2 separate regions of the Homo sapiens genome follow, and region 1 is linked to region 2. The links are contacts of gene promoters, found by promoter capture Hi-C in blood cells and fetal thymus (Javierre and others, 2016). All regions are on one chromosome and are shown on one strand. Each heading gives the region's core, a stretch centred on a gene start or on the middle of the fragment in contact. The rest is flanking DNA. Distances are from core to core; before and after follow the strand shown. Region 1 overlaps ZBTB17 (zinc finger and BTB domain containing 17). Region 2 holds the start of PLEKHM2 (pleckstrin homology and RUN domain containing M2).

Region 1 (2,700 bases), core at 50-2,549, 270 kb before region 2:
TGGCAGTTTGGAAACCCTGCAGGTAGTTTAGTGCATACTAATAACCTGGGTAACATTTCATGTTTGACAGGTGCCCATTTGACTCTGACATGGAGCTGTGCTCTCTGGGGCCACTTAGCACTCTGGGCATGCACTCCAGCCTTTGTCTGGGAGCACTCTTGGGGTTTAACAGAACAGTTGTTCAATATAAAGTGCCTCCTGGCAGAGACAATAGCTCTAGATGTCTCTCCACTCAGTGCCCCTCCCATCACTTCCTCCCTGTCTTCATGCTAATTGTGCTCTGGAATTCTTCCAGATTGCATTTAGGAGTGATGGGTTATGATTACACCTCTTAACAAGGTCAAGTACCCCATGTGCCCAGTGCAAAGGGGTATATAGAAACCATCTGATAAAGACTTTGGCCTAAAAAAATGAAACTATCATCTGCATCTCTGCTTCCTGGCAACAGTAGTTTGTTGCATGCTCACGATATGCCAGGCTCTGTACAGGGTCTTGACCTATGTTACTTAATTTAATCCTGTCACAAAGGAAGTCATACCATTAGCCCTGTTGGCCATTGGAGAAGCTTTGCTGGAGATCACCTGCGGGTGGCTGGTGGAACCCAGATCCAGGTCCTGCTTGGCCTGTCCCGGGAGGCTCTGCTGCTTCCATGGGGCTCAGCCGCCACTGGAATCCCTGCGTCGTGGAGGCAGCAGTATGGAACTTGGCACCAGAGTGGATTTCACGGCCCAAACAGAAACCTGGCTTACTCAGCAGTCTGTGGTGCTTTGGGACTGCAAGACAGATGCAATGGGTTGTGCTTTCTGGGGCCAGCCCTTCCAAATCCCACCCGCAGGAGCCTTGGCGGCTCTCTTAGCTCCTCTGACCCTCGCTGCCACGCTGGGCCTCAAGGCAGCCCTGGTGAGCATGGCCGGGAGTGTGGTTGGGAGCAACCCAGCCTTGGCCAGCACACTCTGTGCCATGACTGGATCAAGTCTGGCAACTGAACCTCACTTTTTTCTTATTAAAATTTTTGAAAAATGGCTGGGTGCAGTAGCACACGCCTGTAATCCCAGCACTTTAGAAGGCCAAGGTAGGCAGATTGCTTGAGCCCAGGAGTTTGAGACCAGCCTGGGCAACATGGTGAAATCCTGCTTCTACAAAAAAAAAAAAATACATTTTTTTAAATAATTGGAATGTTTTCATGTAAATGTATATGAAATATACACATTTAGTTTAAGTAATAAATCCAGGGGACTCCAAGTAAAGAAAGAGAACTCTTCTAGGATCTCAGAAGTCCCCTGCTTACCCTCCCCCATCCAGAGAGAACCGTCATCCTGAACCTTTGGCTGAATCACTTCCTTTTCTTCCTGGTTTTACCGTCCGTCTCAGTTATCTCCTGCTGCACAGCACAGCACCCCAAAACCCAGTGGCATAAGTCATCGGTGAGTCAGTCTTTCTTAGTTGGATGGGTGGACAGGCAGTCGCTTGCTCCCCGAGGTGTTGGTTGAGGCCGTGCGTGCAGCAGCGCACAGCTGGGCTGGGAGGTCCAGGAAAGTGTGTCCCTCGCCACAGAGCATTGGTGCTGTCAGTGGCCTCTCTGCTCTTCTCCATGTGCCCTCTCCCCAGAGCCCCTCCATGTGTCTCCCACTCACACGGGAGCTTGGACTTTCCTCCAGCTCGGTGACTGGATTCCCAGGAGCCACAGCAGAATCTTCCAGGCTTCTTTAGGTTTAGGTCTGGAATTGGCACAGTCCCAGCATCCTGATGTCAGAGTCGTCTCTGGGCCATCCAGATTCCGACAGGAGGGAAACAGACACCGTCTCTCCATGGGAGGCGTGGTGGGCCCTGGCAGGGGAGGAATGGCTGGCCATCCTGAGAGGGGCTCTGCATCATCCGCGTCCGTTCCGCCGTGTCGGTTCTGCCGCGTCTGTTCCGCTGTGTCAGTGTGCCTGTCCGGACTCACACTGCAGGTGTCCTCAGTGCCTCACTTTTTTGTTCCCCAGTGAATTCCTCGTGAGGGAGCCCAGGGCTCTGTGTCCACCTAAGCTTTTGGTCATCAGGACAGCATCCCAGCTCTGACACCTGAGGTGAGGGAGAAAAACTGAGTGACTAGAGGTGTTGGGAAAAGGTGCCCGATTGCAGCTAAGACTTTGTGAGTGGGGGTCAGGTCAGTCTGCATCTAAAATGAGGACTCTGGGCTGCTGGGCTCTGTGGTCTCGTTCTGTTGGCATTTTCTATGGTTCTAAGGTTTTAGGATCTTCCTTAGAAGTTGCTTTAACTAGTGCACATATTTATCGCCCATCACGCAAGGTGAAGACAAGACCACAGACCTTGACACTTGTGCTTGAGCGATGGGCACCGTATTCCAAGGGTGGGGTGGGGCAGGCTGCCTGGTGGGAACAGTATTTCTTCACCCTGTGTTCCCGCACATCTGGGGGCGATGGGGAGCAGCTGGCTGTTGATCTGATTACTGTGGTTAACGTCTCCCCAGACAGCACCTCCTAGCACGTACTTAGGAGGGGATATGTTCCTAGGACCTGCACACCCCTTCGCTCCCAAACCCTTTTCCTATGTCCCTCCAAGCCTGGCCGTCCTGCTGGGTTCCTGTCGCTGAGGAATAGATAAGAGGGGAACTAGGATACAGGCTGGTGATCCCTCCAGAGCAGTTCACGTGGGTTGGAGGTGGGGGACTGCCTAGTTCTAGCTCAGCCCCTCAGA
Region 2 (2,700 bases), core at 97-2,596:
GATGGTTGATCTAATTAATTCTATCCATTTTGCTTCTTCAAGTAAAATAAGCTGCTGAGTCCCTCACCCAAGCCATTTTCTTTCTCTTTTTTCTTTCTTTCTTTCTTTTTTTTTTTTTTTTTTTCAGTTTCTGAGACTATCTGGTGAGCCAGGAATTCAAATTACACAAACACACACACAGAGAGGGAGAGAGAGAGAAAAATCCATTCTGATTTGGCCATTTAGGTTTTCAGTGAATATGGATTCTTTTAAATTTATTATTATTATTTTTATATCCAGCCCAAAAACGTCAGAATATGGATTCTACCTTCTAGCACGGACCCTTTTGCGGATATGCCAACTTCATCACAAATACATGCCCTTGACAGGTATGTACTCATTTCTACCTGGAATTGGGACAGTGATGTTTACTGCGGCAAGCCCCACAGCAAGGTGTCTGTGGTGTCACCCGGTTCCCCGGATCAGCATCCAAAATGCAATCCCCATGTACTTCAGGTTCTTATAATCAAAGCCCCTAGTGAACCTCTTCAAAGCTACCATCCTTGAGCAAGATTATTCAGGGGACTTCCCAGGAGCAGAGGCAATGTCGCCGGGACCCAGGCCATGGGAAAGTGAAGTTGCTTATCACTGGCCTCCACCCTGACTGCCAGACCCTGGGCGACGCCAGCCTGGCGGGGGGACCCGGGGATGCAGCGGATTCCACAGGAGGCTGCATGGGGTTCCTTCAGGAGCTCCCGGGGGCGCCGCTGCCCCAGTGGGGGACCGGAGGGTCGCTGACCCCTCTCCGGGAGGGCAGGGCCCCGGGCCAGGTTTGGGGAAGCTCCGAGGATGCTGACCTCAACTTTGTTCTTTAAAAATAGCTCCGAGGCCGCGGCGCTCACGTGAGCGGCGCCGCTTCCCCTCTACCGGCCCGGGGCTCCCGGCCGCTCGTCGCCCCCCGGGTCGCGGAGGGGAAGGGCGGGGGGCCCCGGCCCGGGAGAGCGCCGCCGGAGGGCGTGGGGGGCGCGGCGAGGAAGGGGCCCCGGCCGGGAGGGAGGCCGCGCTCACCTTCTTCACCGACAGCGAGATGTTCTCCAGGATCCGGTCCTTCACCTCCCCCGGCTCCATGGCGCTGCCACCGTCGCCGCCACCGCCACCGCCACCGCCGCCGCCGCCCCGCCGCCGCTTCCCGCGCCGGGGGCCGGGGGCCGCCGCCAACCGCTGCCGCCGGCCGTACGGGGGCTCCGTCGTGCCGGCCGCGGGGCCCGGCGCCCGCCGCCCGGCCCTCGCCTCGCCTGGGCCCTCGCTCCACCGCGGCCCGGAGGCTCCGGAGCGCGGCCGGCGGGGAAGGAGGCCGCGGGCTGTGCGCCGCGGCGGCGGCGGCGGCAGGAACTGATGTCAGGCGGGGCGGCGCCAGGGCCCGCCTGCGCCTGGGGACTCCGGGGACCCGGAGACCCGCACAGACCCTTGGCCGCGGCCCTCCCCAGAGACCCCGAGACCCGCCCCCAGCCCTCCTCAAGTCACAGACTCTCCCCGGCACCCCAGAGACACCCTCAGACCCCAGGGACGCCAGAGACCTCGACCCCGCCTGCCGGGGACCTCGGGGCTCCTCAGAGACCCTCCCCAAGCCCTCCTCAGCCCACAGATTCCTTCAGGGACCCCAGAGACACCCTCAGACCCCAGGGACTCCGGACACCCCGACCCCGCCTGCCAGAGACCCCCACAGACCCTGGGACCCCGGCCCTCCTCGGAGACCCTCCCCCAGGCCTCGTCAGCCCACAGATTCCCTCAGGGACCCCAGAGACACCCTCAGACCCCAGGAACTCCGGAGACCCCGACCCCGCCTGCCCGGGACACCGGCCCTCCTCAGAGACCCTGGAGACCCTCCCCCTCAGCCCTCAGGCCATAGACTCCCCCCTGGGACCTCAGAGACACCCTCAGACTCCAGGGACTCCGGAGACCCCAACCCCACCTGCTGGGGACCCCCACAGACCCTGGGCCCCCAGCCCTCCTCAGAGACCCCCAAAGACCCCGAGGCACTGGCCCTCCCCAGAGACCCTGAGACCCTCCCCACAGCCCTCCTCAGCCCACAGGATCCCCCCACAAAACCCCAGAGACTCCCACAGGCCCCAAGGACTCTGGAGACTCCGACCCCACAGGCCAGAGACCCCCACAGACCCTGAGACCCCGGCCCTCCTCAGAGACTCGAGACACCCACAGACCCTGGGCCCCCTCCCGCCGGCCCTCTTTAGTCCACAGACCCCTCCTTGGAGACCCCAGTGCACCCCACTAACTCTGGCCAGGGACCCCAAGACCCTCTTAGCCTGCAAGCCCCACTTATCTTCCTCCCCTTCCTTAGCCCAGCCACCCCCTCAATGTGCAGACCCAGGCCCCCTGGCTTTCGCAGCCTGGAGGACCCAGCACCCCCACCGGGTCAGCCTAGACTCCAGTCCCCAGCCCTAGACCCTCCCTGGGCCCCCTGGCCCTCCACAGCCTCCCCTCCTCAGTGCCTCACCCTCAAGGCCCAGTCCTACATTTGAGGTCCCTGGTGTTCCTCCCCACCCCCAAAACACACCCTCCTCACCTTCAGCCCCAATGCCCCATTCCCACTCCTTATCCTTATCCCTCTTCTTCAGCCCCACGTATCCCAAGGGCCTCAACTCCCTCAGCCCCTGAAACCCACCGTAACAACTCTCTTCCCACACACCCTCCTCAAATCCA

Evidence for each region. The method cuts DNA at HindIII sites, captures the fragments that hold promoters and counts their contacts. A CHiCAGO score of 5 or more calls a contact.
Region 1: a fragment that was not itself captured here is called in contact with the fragment with the promoter of PLEKHM2 in region 2 in 1 of 17 cell types (monocytes); the score reaches 5.8 in monocytes.

The regions. Positions count from the first base shown.
Region 1 is chr1:15,951,634-15,954,333 of GRCh38, reverse strand. All of the region lies in intron 2 of ZBTB17 (zinc finger and BTB domain containing 17), which reads left to right. LOC124903855 (a long non-coding RNA gene) reads right to left here. Exons shown (of 3, transcript XR_007065486.1): 2 at 1,289-2,064; 3 at 1-773. Among named protein-coding and RNA genes, the nearest start is that of ZBTB17, 23 kb to the left of the region's middle. RefSeq lists an enhancer at 739-1,938. The HindIII fragment of the contact is 1,463 bases long and covers 568-2,030 here.
Region 2 is chr1:15,682,966-15,685,665 of GRCh38, reverse strand. It overlaps PLEKHM2 (pleckstrin homology and RUN domain containing M2), which reads right to left and starts at 1,346. Exons shown (of 20, transcript NM_015164.4): 1 at 1,048-1,346. The coding sequence starts at 1,107. RefSeq lists an enhancer at 363-422 and silencers at 653-722, 1,243-1,322, 1,413-1,492. The HindIII fragment of the contact is 15,543 bases long and covers 1-2,700 here.